Regions from separate parts of the Homo sapiens genome. Here all the other regions are linked to region 1. Evidence: promoter capture Hi-C in human tissues and cell types (Jung and others, 2019). All regions are on one chromosome and are shown on one strand. Each heading gives the region's core, a stretch centred on a gene start or on the middle of the fragment in contact. The rest is flanking DNA. Distances are from core to core; before and after follow the strand shown.

The links. The method cuts DNA at HindIII sites, captures the fragments that hold promoters and counts their contacts. A contact is called where the count stands out against the background at its distance.
Region 2: a fragment that was not itself captured here is called in contact with the fragment with the promoter of LPP in region 1 in 2 of the 25 tissues and cell types used here (hippocampus and liver).
Region 3: a fragment that was not itself captured here is called in contact with the fragment with the promoter of LPP in region 1 in 1 of the 25 tissues and cell types used here (aorta).
Region 4: a fragment that was not itself captured here is called in contact with the fragment with the promoter of LPP in region 1 in 4 of the 25 tissues and cell types used here (IMR-90 fibroblasts, aorta, heart left ventricle and 1 more).

What each region holds. Positions count from the first base shown.
Region 1 is chr3:188,152,204-188,155,699 of GRCh38, forward strand. It overlaps LPP (LIM domain containing preferred translocation partner in lipoma), which reads left to right and starts at 1,954. Exons shown (of 12, transcript NM_001375462.1): 1 at 1,954-2,049. It overlaps LPP-AS2 (LPP antisense RNA 2), which reads right to left and starts at 1,885. Exons shown (of 1, transcript NR_036497.1): 1 at 1-1,885. RefSeq lists enhancers at 489-1,389, 3,189-3,496 and a silencer at 1,822-2,161. The HindIII fragment of the contact is 14,765 bases long and covers 1-3,496 here.
Region 2 is chr3:188,928,187-188,931,682 of GRCh38, forward strand. No RefSeq gene overlaps it. Among named protein-coding and RNA genes, the nearest start is that of TPRG1-AS1, 18 kb to the right of the region's middle. The HindIII fragment of the contact is 5,790 bases long and covers 1-3,496 here.
Region 3 is chr3:188,770,875-188,774,370 of GRCh38, forward strand. All of the region lies in intron 9 of LPP (LIM domain containing preferred translocation partner in lipoma), which reads left to right. Among named protein-coding and RNA genes, the nearest start is that of MIR28, 84 kb to the left of the region's middle. The HindIII fragment of the contact is 7,685 bases long and covers 1-3,496 here.
Region 4 is chr3:188,674,829-188,678,324 of GRCh38, forward strand. The region is part of intron 7 of LPP (LIM domain containing preferred translocation partner in lipoma); the gene reads left to right. Among named protein-coding and RNA genes, the nearest start is that of MIR28, 12 kb to the right of the region's middle. The HindIII fragment of the contact is 8,330 bases long and covers 1-3,496 here.

The DNA.
Region 1 (3,496 bases), core at 704-3,203:
CGCCCAGCCATGTTCATATTTTTGTATGTGTACATTAGATAGTTGAGAGGAACACAGAGGTTAAGTAGTCTTACCCCTGAAATGTCTGAATTCAAACACTTATTAAGCACAAGGAAGGTGCTTAATAAATCCAATAACATGTGTTTTTACATTATTTCCTTAATTCCTGGTCAAAAGAATCCCACTAAAGTCCATCCTCAGAAGAACCACTTTTTGGAGTTTTTATGAATCAGTAGCTCATGGTGTACTCTCAACAGTTATGAATGGAATTAGGTCCTGCTAGAGGTCAGGGCCAGGTATGGAAAGATGAAGGGATTAGTCAGGAGACCTGGATGGGAGGAGGGGAAGACAGGTGCTTGGTCAGTCAGTTGTTTTGTGTTGGGCGAGTAACGTTTCTTAAGTTTTTGTCTGAGGTGTAAAGGGGGGACTACGCTCTGTCCTATCTAACTCACCTGAAGATGCAATAGCCGGGTGAGAGACTGCTTTCATTATGTGCTAACGTGAGGGATTACTTTAGATATTAATAGGAGAGAAGTGCAAGGAAAGGAAGTCTCAGGGTATGGAATGCTTTCCTGGCCATGGCTGCTGCGCGTCATAATCCCCTAACACAGTTAAGTGGTGGTTCTCATCGTCGTTCACCCTTACAGATGTCAGAGGGGAAAGAAAAATCCAACTCAAAACTTCCAATGACAGGCTTGTCTGTATTCAAACCAGTTCATCTCGTTCGCAGACTTTTTTGAAGCTATAAGCACAGAGCAAGCTTTCTGGGCGGGGCTCAGAAGTAAACGTTAAACTCCAGGGATTCATTTATTTGAGCACAGGACAGAGGAAGTTGCCCTGAAGCAACTGATTGTCATTGATATTCAGGGCTCGCTGTCAACCAGGACCTTCCAGGAACTGGCTCTGGGCCAAGAGCAGTAGAAATCACTGGGTGGTCCGCACAGCTCGCGGGCATCTAACCTGCTTCAAGGCTCAGGGCTAAAAGGGAGCCAGGGCCCTTCCTGGAGGCGGGAACCCAAGTGGGAGGCAGAGCGCCTGGGCCCGCTCCTCGATCTGCTGAGTGACGACCCTGTACAAGTCATTTCTCTTCCGAGAGCTTCAGTTTCCTCACGTGCCAAGCGGACGGGTTGGAAGTTGGTCTTTGCCAGCTCTGACACCTTGTAAGTTTTGAGTCTTGCTGGGAATCCAGGGCGGGGCTCACGAGGAAAATCTTGGAAGGGGATTTCATGGCTGGATCTCTTCCACTCAAGCTCAGTGCCCTAATTTGACGCCTTAATAGTAGACGCAGGCTTTTCCATTTTCCAGGAGCCCCCTGACGCGGCCGCTTCCTCCTACGTCTCCTTCCTCTTCCTCTAGCAGGGGCAAAGTCTCCACATCTCCCTCTTTCTCTTCCTCCTTTGCAAGCTCCCTGCATTCCCGCGTCTCCTCCTCTTCCTCCCAGGAAATGCAATGCCCTCAGTGCGCCCACCTTTTGGCAAAGCCACTGCCGGCTGCGGGTTTCCCCTCCCCCGCCAGGCGAGCTCTGCGCGGCGGCTTCGCGGGCACACGCCTTCCCATACCTTACATGGACAAATGCGTGCAGGCAAAGTCAGGAATTCAGGCCCCTGACGTCAGCCTCCAGCGCTCAGGGCACCGCACGGGAGACCAAGGGGAGGGGGTGGGGACGGTGGGGAGGAAGGAGGGGGAAAGGCACCAACCAGCAGCCGCTCCAGCCCTGCCGAAGTTTCACTTTTTGTCTGTGGGTTCGTTCCCGGGTCCCGCGCGAGCTTTCCCGGGATAAGTAGCTTTAGCGATCGGGAGACAGCCGGGCGCTGCAAGGTAAGGGCTGGCTGCACGGCCCGGGGCGCGGGGCGTGGGGCGCTGGGCGCGGGCGGCGCGCTCGAGGAGGCCAGTGTGGGGCGCGGGGCCGGGCCTGTCCGGGGCTGGGGACAATGGGAGGGGGAGTGCCCGGGCACCTCCTCCTCTGCCTCTGCCTCCGCCTCCAGCCGCCGCCGCCGCCGCCGCCGCCGCCACCACCACCGCCGCTGCCCCGGCTGCCTCCTCCCTGAGGTATTGTTGCAAATCCTTCCTTCCCCTCACCCTCCACCCGCGGGCGCCTCGGGAACCCCCAGCCCTCCCCCGGCGCGAGCGCCTCCGGGGTGGCAAGAGCGCAGGGCGCGCGCCCTGCTCTGGCCTGGCCCGCTGTGCGGAAGTGCCGGCCGCGGCCCAATCACGGGGTGCACGCCATGGGGGAGGGGGACCCAGAGTTTTTCCAAAAGCGTCGACCCCAGGCTAGGCGGGGTTGGAGCCTTGCGCGCCCCCTGCCCGGACTTTTCTGGGCGCCCAGGGGGCGGGGCCACGCCCATCCGCTTAGAGCTTTCGCGGAATCACAGTTGTCACAGCGGAAAGGGCCTAGACCCAGTCCTCCAAGTCCTCCCATTTTACAGTTGGGGCAGCTGAGGCCCAGAGAGAAGGAGGGTCGCCCGGAAGTTATTTACTAGAGGCCAGACCATAATTCAAATAGTTGGCTCCGGACTTAAGTTCCCTTTCTCTAAGCATTTCTCTAGCACCCTGTGTGTGGCAGACCCTGTGCTGGGTGTATTGGACGTTGCCCTCAAGGAACTCAGTTGAACCTGGGAGTCAAACCTGGCCTAGGGTAGAAAATGCTAAGTGCTGGAGCAAAGGCGTGGACAAAGTTAAAGGAAGTTCCAGGGAGGGGGTTTGATTTTCTGGTCCCTGGGACGGCCTTTTGGAGAGTCCTGCACTGAATGGGGTTTTTGGAGGTTGAGGAGTTTCCTGAAGCCAGCTAGCGGCTTGGAGGAAGACATCTCTTCGAGGGAACCGTGGGCCAGAGAAGACTAAGTAGTGTGGGAAATGGAGATGAAAGTATAAATATTCTTTAGTTGGAGGCAAGGGGTTGGGGATGGGGGAGGTTGTGATATGAGATGAGCTAATCAGTGGAATTGTGCCTGGGTGCTTGGACAGGGCAGAGTCTTTGGAACCTCGGAGTCGTAGGAGAACTGAAAAATCTCTCTGGCTTCCCTTCCCTTAGAAGGGATCCACTGCTTTCCCTCCCCCAACACAAAACAACTAGCGAGAACTCAGGGTCTTCTCTGGGGCTTTTGCTAGTACCAAACTCACTTAACTGTGTTTCCAGTCCCCTTTCTCTTTCCATTCCTTCCCCTTTTACTAAATCTCTTGCCTTTCCTGTAAAATTCACTCTCACTAAGGTGTTGATGACTTAATGGCTTACCTTTCCCTGCACATGTGCATTTTAAGAAAGCCTAAAGTGAAGAAGGGGAAAGTGTGGCTAGGCACCTTTACAAAGCATCTAGCTCCCTCTCCCATCCTCCCCCTTCCTCAACTCTTATAGATAGAAGAATAGGTAAAGGTCCACGAAGGTGGGTGCTAGACCTAGAGCCTATGGTCAATAATGGTGGACAGTGGGGGGTTAGGACATCCAATATGGTTTTCTCCACTTCGTCACCAGTTTTTCTGCTTGCACAGTTCCTGCCAG
Region 2 (3,496 bases), core at 427-2,926, 780 kb after region 1:
GCTCCTCTCCCTGTACTTGGAACCTGGGCCCAATTCCATTCCTCCTTTTCCTGAGCCTTGCCTTTATAAAATCTCTTGGAAGGGGCCCTACTACTTGTTAATGTATACTTAACTTTCTTCTCCTATTCCCCATCCAACCAGGGCCTGGCCTGCCCTGAGCCTGGCCCAGGTATGAGAATGTGTACCTGCTCCTAGGCCCCCTGACCCCAAATTACTGCTTGAATCTCTACTCACCTGCCTCCAACCATGCTGACCATGTTCAGCTGGCCCTACCTTTCCTCACACAGACCCTCTCCTGGCTGCCTTCTCCCTTTGCCTGGACTTATGTTCTCCTGACAAGGTGCCTGTGTCCACAGACTTGGGCTTCCTGTAGCCTTTTGGGGAGGCTACGTGGCGGTGGAAAGGATTGACTGACTTAAAAATGTTCTGGGTGGCCAGACACGGCGGCTCACGCCTGTAATCCCAGCACTTTGGGAGGCCGAGGTGGCAGATCACGAGGTCAGGAGATCGAGACCATCCTGGCTAACATGGTGAAACCCTGTCTTTATTAAAAATACAAAAATTAGCTGGGCGTGGTGGCAGGTGCCTGTAGTCCCAGTTACTTGGGAGGCTGAGGCAGGAGAATGGCGTGAACCCGGGAGGTGGAGCTTGCAGTGAGCCGAGATCGCGCCACTGCACTCCAGCCTGGGTGACAAAATGAGACCCCGTCTCAAAAAAAAGAAAAAAAAAATGCTCTGGGCCAGGCCAGGTGTGGTGGCTCACACCTGTGATCTCAGCACTTAGGGAGGCCGAGGCAGGTGGATTGCTTGAGCATAGGAGTTTGAGACCAGCCTGGGCAACATAGGAGACTCTGTGTCTACAGAAAGACAAAAAAAGATGTTTTAAATTAGCTGGGCATGGTTGCGCATGCCTGTGGTCTCAGCTACTAAGGAGGCTGAGGTGGGAGGCTGCAGTGAGCTATGATTGCACCACTGCACTCCAGCCTGGGGGAGAGTGAGACCCCTGTCTCAAAAAATAAAAATAGAAAGTTTTAGGCCTCCCCACCCCCACGGCCATCTGGCTAGTGTAGCCACTCTAAATCACACTCTCACAACCTACTCCTTTCACCTGCCCGCTCCTGGATTTCCTGTCAGAATTTTACAGGATTCTGCTCAGCAATGCCCTCTTCTGCCTGACCAGGAGAGCTCTGAGCAAAACACTCATGGACTTATTTGCAGAGACTGTAGCCATTCAACCAAGCCCAATCATGTCACAGGGATTTCCAATCTTTTCCCTCTCCCTAGATACTACAAGACCCACAAATTCACAAATTCTGTCTGAACCAACTCCAGTCCAAGTTTGTGCCCAGAGCCTTCCAAGGAATGTCTAATTCTGAGGCCTGAAATTCCATGGCTGTTCCTTTTTCTGCCCCAACCCTGCAGCCTTCACCCTGTGGAGAGGGAAGATCCAGCCTGTTTCCAGTCCCAGAAAGCCCTTCCATGGTCTGCACATATAGGCCCAACAAATGCTAGAATTAGATCCCCCAGCCCACTGCCAGAGGCCAGGGAAGCTGACCTGCTTCCTCCCTGGAAGAGGGTAGAACAAAAGGAGCCTGCACGTGGCTTCTGTCTGTCCTCGTCCTCCACGACCCCGTGCTACCCCCACACTCACAGCCCTCTTGGAGCTCCCCGCACCCCCGCCATCCACAGTGCCTCCCCCAGAAGATGGGCCCAGGCCTGGGTGCTTTCCTGCAGCCCTGGACCAGAATCAGCCTGATCTATGGGCTAGGGTTTTTGCAGCCAAAAAGCCTAAATCTCTAGACCCCAGTCCAGGAAGCCCCAGACCACAGTCAGGGGCCGTGGGAGGCTGAGCTATGAGGACAACCAAAACCCACAGTGGGATCTTGAGGGCTCCGGGGCTTCCCTGAAACATAGCTGTGAGTGGTGGCGCGTCTTGGGATGAGTAGGGGCAGAGCTGCTGGTGAGGCGGGGGACCTATCTACCCCCACACCTGGAAAAGGAGGAGTGTGCTCCATATGGGATTCTAGTCTTGGCTCCAGATCTAGATATTCAGCAACGTTTCTGGCTTAAGGGTACCCTAGAGCCCATATCCCCTAGTGTTGAACTGGAACTTATATCATCAATGGCTCAGGCAGATAAAACAAAATCTGACACAAAGATCGCAGGGGCCCGGAGAGCCTTAGAGTTTGTAACACCTGCTTTACCTCCAGGAAGACAGCCCTTTCTCCGGAGTCTCACCCTGATCAGAGCCTATTACAGGCGTTCCCAAATGCCCACTGGGATCCACGCTGCCCTCAGATGAGGCTGTGGCTGGCTGGGAAGCTGCTCGTGCTGTGCAGACAGAGCCTGAGTGAGACTGACGTTGGAGTGCCGCCCAAGAGAGGGTCCTTTGCCATGGGAAGATCCTGGAGATTTGTCCTGGCTGTAACAGTTCCCTGTAAGAGCCCTTGCAGTGCAGAAGCCAGGAAGAGAACTGAGAAGGTCAAGCCCGTCAATTTCACCCTCCAGGCTGGCAGTGCTATTGTTACTAGGTTAGAGGTGTTTCTCCTGGAAGCCCCTAGAACCTTCCTGGAGAGTAAGTACTTGGCAGGTGGGGAAGACATCCACCCACCTCTATCCCAGCCTAGCTTGGAACTCTGCTTCTGACACCCACAGACTGATTTTCTGATCCCACACCCAGTGACCATAAGGCCCAGGAGCTCAGACAGAGGAGATCTGGGCCTTGACATTGTATAGGCTTGAGCCCACTTCATCTCTCTCAACCTCAAGCCTCATCTTGAAAATGGGGCGATAACAGCACATGCCTCACAGGGTTGTTGGTCTTTAGCTAAATGCCAGGAAACTTTCTCAGAAACAGTAGACTTCAGTGCCGATTTTCTGACTCTAATTCTGAAGGTTAATCCTGGGGAGAGAGTACAGGCTTCACAGAGTCAGCACAACTGTCCTCTGGGTTTTGCAGGAAAGGCCTGGAGAGTCCCCCTGGGTTACTTTTAAAGATTACGTCTATATGATGCATTCTATTCTAGAGAAATGTGCTGGGTTTTAACAACTGGGACATGAGGCTGGAGGCCAGAATTTTTCCCCTAGGTCTGCCCCAAAGCTGCTGAGTTAGCTGCTTTGTGATTCAAAGTTCCAGTCCAGAGAAAAATACCAATTACTTCTCCTCTTTACAACTCACCGTATGATAACAAAAATCTTTCAAAATGTATGAAAACTTACAGTTTCTAAGTCCTTTTCACACCCAGGATCTCCTCCGATCCTCACAACAATCCTACAAGGTTGGCAAGCCAGGATTTTGTCCTCTTTTCATCGGGGAGCAGCCTGTAGCTCGCTCAGGAACCTACAACCCCTTGGCGACAGAGAGGCAGGCCCAGAGTACACATTTCCTACTTGCATCCACTGTTCTTTGTCTTTCTTCTTTCATTTCAAACTGAGACATTGATTTCGAACTTTTGCTACAGTCCTGTCTTTTGCAGTGTGGTTCATCACCTGCATTC
Region 3 (3,496 bases), core at 176-2,675, 620 kb after region 1:
AAAACAAACAATAAGAGCAAACCAGTTTGTTATATGTTCTCACATCTGACTTTGTAAAACAGTTTGAAAACATTAGCGTGCTCAGCTCCAGGATTGTCCCATGCAGGCAATGACTGTTACATCTTTCCCTTCTTTGTAGTTTATTTTTGCCCAGATGGATCTGCATTCATTTGTACTATCTATTATAATATTGTTAGAATTCACTATTATACTGTAGAATTCATTAATTCTATTATATTGTAGAATTCACTAATTCTATAATATTGTACAATTCACATTATATATTATAACATTGTAGAATTCACCAATAATATTGTAAAAGTCACTAATAATTCATAAAAGGAATGAATTCATTTGTGATCTTATCAAAAAAAATTTAAAAAGAAAAAAGAGGCCGGGCACAGTAGCTCACGCCTGTAATCCCAGCACGTTGGGAGGCCGAGGTGCACAGATCACTTGAGGTCAGGAGTTCGAGACCAGACTGGCTAACATAGTGAAACTCCATCTCTACTAAAAATACAAAAATTAGCTGAATGTGGTGGCACAAGCCTGTAATCCCAGCTACTCGGGAGGCTGAGGCAGGAGAATCACTTGAACCCAGGAGGCAGAGGTTGCAGTGAGCTGGGATTTGTGCCACTGCACTCCAGCCTGGGCGACAGAGTGAGACTCCATCTCAAAAAAAAAAAAAAAAAGAAAGAAAGAAAGAAAGGGAGAAAGAAAGAAAGAAAGAGGCACTTGAATGAAAGTACTGTTTCTTAGCTCACATGGTTATAGGGTGAAATGAGGATTCGGAGAGGACAGGACTGAACAAAAATCAGTGTGGGGGCTTTGAGTCGTAAATAACTGTACCAGGGCTTAGCCCCAGTTAGACACATAACAAATCTGCAAGAGAGAATTTTGCCTAACTTGAATCACCAAAGGACAACTGTAAGTCAGCATTTCAGGCTCTGGAATATTACTTGCATACCCACTTGGTTTGAGAACTTGTGGAGTCTGAGAGATGGCAAGTCATGAGACTAGGAGCTCGGTTTTCTCAAAATGTGTCAGCGGTCACCTGCTTTGTAATCACTGTGAACTCCTCATTAAAAAGTAAAGTTCTGGACTCCTCCCCAGAATTTCTGCACAAGGAGACAGGAACTTTGCATCTTTTGCAAGGCTCCTGGGACAGCAGGGAGTTGGGAGGTAAATTTTTATGCACAGTCAAGTTTGAAATCCACTAGTCTGTACTTCCAGTCAAGCTCATGCAAAAATTGGTCCCAAAATATGTTTGCATTCTTATCTCCCATCAGCTCTCCTACACATTCTTTTTACAACACTTGCCCAAGGTGAGGACTCTTCTCCTGGACATTGATATGGAGGTTTCTCTGTCTATTCCCATGCCATTGGTTGCCTACCTTCTGCCTTTTCCGATCTCCAGCCTTAAAATGCTTTCCTGGAACTTAACCAACTAGATGTAACCATTTCTGAACATGCAAGGTTTTCATTTCCACATCTCTCATAGGATTGATCCTCACCACAACTGGTATTATCAAGTCACTGGCATCCTTGACACACTCCAGTACTGACAGGAACCCCTTGAAGACTGTGCGGGGTGCGGGGAGGTCACCCTTTTTTCTTTTCTTTTCTTTTCTTTTTTTTGAGACAGAGTCTCACTCTGTAGCCCAGGCTGGAGTGCAGTGGCGCCATCTTGGCTCACTGCAACCTCTGCCTCCTGGGTTCGCGCCATTCTCCTGCCTCGGCCTCCCGAGTAGCTGGGACTACAGGTGCCCGCCACCAAGCCCAGCTAATTTTTGTATTTTTAGTAGAGACGGGGTTTCACCGTGTTAGCCAGGATGATCTCGATCTCCTGACTGCAGGGAGGTCACCTTTAATTCGTCTTTGTCTTTTCTGTAGTGCTTATCATAATAGGTGAACCTATTGCTGCTCTGATAGTGAGGGGGATTTGGGGGGAGCCTGTGTCACTCTAGCACTATGTCTCCCCACAGTCATTGACTCACATACCCTTTGCTTGCCCCTTCGTGCACCTAGGACCTGAGACTATGTATGTATAAGAAGGAAGGAGGAGAACTTGGCTCTGAGAGACTATGAACAGAGTCATTGCTGAAATGTAAATATCAAAGATTGAAGGGAAAGATGTGAGAGTGAAGCCAGCTGTCTAGCTTCCAGCCGTAGAATGATCATAAGAGCTACTACACTCAAGGTCAAACACACTGACTCACCCATGAAAATTGCCAAGGAGTTTGAGTGGAAGTTCTCTGATATTCCAATGACTTTGAATGGGACACGGTAATTCCTTCCCACAGCCAGGGCTTACTTAAAATAAGTAAATGAATAAATAAAGTCTACTCCCTGGATCTTTTTTTTGCTCTTGTCCCTGCAGAGTAAGGGGATGCCAGCCAAGGCTGACATCATCATTATAGCAAGACAGGTGCTTTTTTTGAATACTTCACAAGGACAAGGGCCTGGTATTATGTAGGTCTTCAAAGAATATATATATATATAAATTTTTTTAATTCAGTCTCCTACATTTATAGTATGGGGAAATAAGACAAGAGCGAGGAATGCCTTGCTTGGGATATTGCAATTGGATGGCTGCACTGAGGACTATTTAAGCAACCTTAAAATCACAAACACACATCTGTGATGACTTTTTAATTATATCTGTCATTTTGGAAAAGATATTAAACATCTTCCTCAGAAGTTATTTTTACTTTACACACTCTTTAATAATGTTAAAAGATATTTGATGCAATTTATATTAATAAAGCTCATGGGACGTGTTAGTAAAAATAAAATTGAATCTTCTAAAATATATTCCTTTAAAAATGAATGTCTATAATTTTATGCTAGTTTAAGCAAATAATCTGAATAAATCCTGTTTGTTTAGCATAACACATGTACACGTAGTTTCTCCACAAAATGGAACGCGCTAAATGTGTTGGGGCCTCAGGAAAGAACTAGTGGAAGGGGGCATAGGAGGATTTGGGGGCAAAAGGAGGAATCCAAAAAGAAGGTCTTCATGGAGGAAGAGACCTGTCCCAATGTGTCATTCGGTAGATCTCACTTTCTCCTAGTACCTCATAGTCATTCATTTTTCACCCCCAACAGACAAGTGGAGACTGATATTATTCCCTTTTACAATGTAACAAAATCAAAGCTTAGAAAACCAGGGGGTTTGGAAAATAAGGAATTTGTGTAGGATTAAAATAGAACTTTGAGCTCCTGGACTCTGAATCTTAGCTTCTACCTTGCACTTAAATAAATTTATGCTAACAGATGTCCTGTCATCAGATAGGACTTTTTTTTTTCTTTTTAATGTCGGCAAGTCTCATTGTTACAGCTCTCTGGTCTGCCCAGTTTGGTTACACCTGTTTTGAGATTCCTTGCCTATACCCTTCCAACTGAAGACAAGCACTTCCTACTGTACTTACAGAACTTTCATCTATGTCTTGGTTTAATCTTTTGCCTTTGTTTTAACCGTTTACCACTTCTGCTT
Region 4 (3,496 bases), core at 453-2,952, 520 kb after region 1:
AAAGACCATCCAGAAGATCAAGTGTTGGAACCTTCCGAGGCTGTGACATATTTATTACTTCAAAGTTTATTATCACAGGACATGCATGCTGCTTTAGCAACTAGAAGTGTGTGAATGAATATTACTATTGTGTTGCATAAGTCCTTGGCAATATTACTTTTTAGGTGCCATTCTAATCCTGCCCTGTTTGGAATAATTGTGATTACGAGGGCATAGGAGTAATTCAGAAATTTTTTGAAGAAATTTCTCCCACAGCATTAGCCTTAGTTATGAGTATAATACAAAAGAAGAGGACCAGCCCTGCTGGAAGGTAAATGAAAAGATGGAGGAATTGAACGATTACATAACAGCTGTTCAGACTTGTGGTACTGATTAGAGTCATTTGTAGAGATGAAGCAGTGTGTCAAGCCAGTGTGGGCTAGGGTATACTGGGAAGTTCTCACAGACAGAATGAAGTGGGTTGCGGCAAGCCCTGAGGTATGGCAAAATCTGGACAGCTAGCCTGGATCTTCATTTTTCATTAGTTGGCTTCCTTAACTGCTCAACAAGTAGACCAAACAAACAAACCACGCATACACACAAAGCAAAGAAGTAAATAAAGAATGGTGGGGCTAAGACTGTGAATAGCTCCTAGCAAATTAGAGAAATAGCTTCAAGTATATGCCTTCTGGATGATGTATGTTTGTATATGAAGGACAACACATCAAGGGGTGTTGGTAGTAATCTGTGCTAAGCTTAGAAGCCAGTATATCATTGTTCTAGTTCTATTTCTACTGTCGAGTGGCTTTATAGCCTTAGACAAGTCATGTAACCGTTCAGGCCCCAAATGTCCTTCTGGAATTACAGGGATTGAACTGGATGAATAAAAAGTTCTATTTCAACTCCAACATTTAATAATTCTAAAGTTCTTAGTGAGCTCTGATTGCTCATTTGCATTACATAGGCATATATTAACCATTTTAATATGTATCAGAAAAGGTATGTTCTTTTTCCTCAGAAATGTTGAAGCCTGACTTTGTTATAGAAAGCACCCAGGAATCATGTCTTCAGAGTTCCTAATTTTTAGTGTTTTCTTGTACTGCCCCGACTGCTGCAATCCTCTCTCTTACATTGGAATTCTGTTTTAAGTTTTGGTGATTGGAATCCTCTTTTTGATTTAAGAGAAAGAATCCTAGGGGTGAAAGATTACTATACTGGAAATGAAAGATTACTAGTCTCTAAATGAGAATTGGCTTTGGTCTGTAATAGATAAAAAGATTTTTAAGGGAAAAATATTAGAAAAGTGAAAACGTTTTTAAAAAAAATAGGTAGCAGTCACCACCGTATTCTGGTGGAATCGAATTCTTGAAGATTAGATTTGTGTATTCATGGAATAATCTAGACAAAATCCTGCCTTGCACATAGTGGGGAGATACACTAAAATACTGAAACAGCTACATTGTATTCAGGTGAAGCTACATAGATGTAAATAAAGGGCAGCCAGCGGGTACAAGCTGTCAATTAAGTGTTTTCAATAGTCTACTCCGTGTCGCCACATCTTAGGTAATTTAGATAGGTAGAAGACAGGTCATTAGCACTGAAGTTGAGAACACATTTGAACTCCAGAATGGGATTAATGCATCTCCAAAAAACGTGTATTTTCTAACCCTGTGCAAAAATTATATTTGAAAAGATTAAAACAAACAACAGTTTTCTTCGTTCTTTGTTATATGTCTTTGTACTTGAAAAAGGTAAAATTCTGCATTACGTTTTAAACAAATTGTGCCAGGGTAAAGGGTAAAATCTCCATCAACATCTAAAGGTCTTTCTTGTTCAGAAAATGAAGGCCCCTCTCCTGCATTAAAGACCAATGTGGCCTTATAGATCCTTATACAGAGGGAACAAAATGACATTAGACAGACTCTAAGGTGCCCTCAATTATTCCCACGTGGTGGTATTCATGCCTTTGTGTAATTGCCTCCCAATGAGTGTGGGAGGGACCTATGATTTCTAGCCAATAGAAACAGCAAAGGTCACATGTAGTCTTTGATGACTTGTGTGTGATTGTGTTATATAAGACTGTAACATTTGTTCTATGAGGGGACTTTCACCCTTGTAGGCTTTAAAGAAACAGGCTGCCATGTTGTCAGCTGCCACCTGGAGAGGTCCATGTGGTAAAGAGTGAGGGCACCTAGTAGCTGACAAGAAACTGAAGCCATCAGTTTAGCAGCCTGCAAGGAACCGACTGTTGACGACAATCATGCAAACTTGAAAGCAGATCCTTCCCCAGTCAATCCTCAGTTGAGACTGCCACCCCAGCCTAACTTTGCTTGTAGACAATGAGACCCTGAGGCAGAGGACCCATCTAAACCATACCTGCACTTGTGACCCACAGAAACTGTGGGATAATAAATGTATGTTGTTTTACTCTGCCAAGTCTTTATTGTTTTATAGATAGCTAATACAATTATGTTACTTTTAGAATCTAACATTTTCTTCACCTTTCGTTTTCTACATAATAGTTACTAAGTGAATGTGACTTGTTATCCCCATCCTCAAAATCATTAAGGGTCTTTTATTTAATATTTGATTTATCTGTGGCTTTGTGAAATTCATAAATCTGCTCCTCAGTTTCTGGTATCTCTTCAGGAGAGATGCCCTCTTACTCTACTGTATATGGAAGTTGAATAAGATTGAAACTGATAGAGAAATACTTGTTGAATCAAGTTGAATTACATGAAATGGGCTTCTTTAAAAGCTGTTATTAAATCTTCCTGTGGCTGTCCTAGAGATGATATAACAGAACTTCTGCTGGGAAATGGGAGAGGGGGAGGGAAGCGTTCCATGAGCTGCTCTGTCATTTGCATGCCAGTGAAATTAAGTTTGAATTTACATTAAGAGGAGTTTTGAAATTTAGGATCTATCTTACCAAATCACAATTCAGCCTAACAAATGTTATGGAAGTACAACAGGAGCCCGGACTGTCCATTGTCATCTAAATGATGGATGTGTTTAAGGTGTTTACATCAGTGCTGTTTCTCCCACCTACCCTAGGTCTGGGTGGTTGCCTGGGATTGTTTACTCAAAGACAGTAGCTTGACAATTTGGAAATGACAGAGGACGCTGATACTTGAAATCAAACTGTAGCCCTGGAATAGCCCAAACATGGTCCCAGGGTGGTCTTGCTTCTGACTTATGTGGAAACGGCCAAATCTTCAACTACATTCTGTAGCTTTTCTTTATTCACCCAGCCAACTGGAAGATGAGTACCTATCTTGGAAATTTCCCAGAAGCAGCAATTCATACTTTCCTTATAACTCTTAACACATTGCTTTATAGTTTCTGTTCCAATGCCAGCAAAGCCCCTCTTTGAAGACTCAGTTTCCGTCATGCTGCTCTCTTACAACACGCTTTCCTCAATTCTGAATGAATGAGCAGATGAGGATGCTGAAATGTTAGCATAACAAACCAAAGTCTTCTTCTGTTGCGGGACATTACATTTAATGTAGCTTTATAC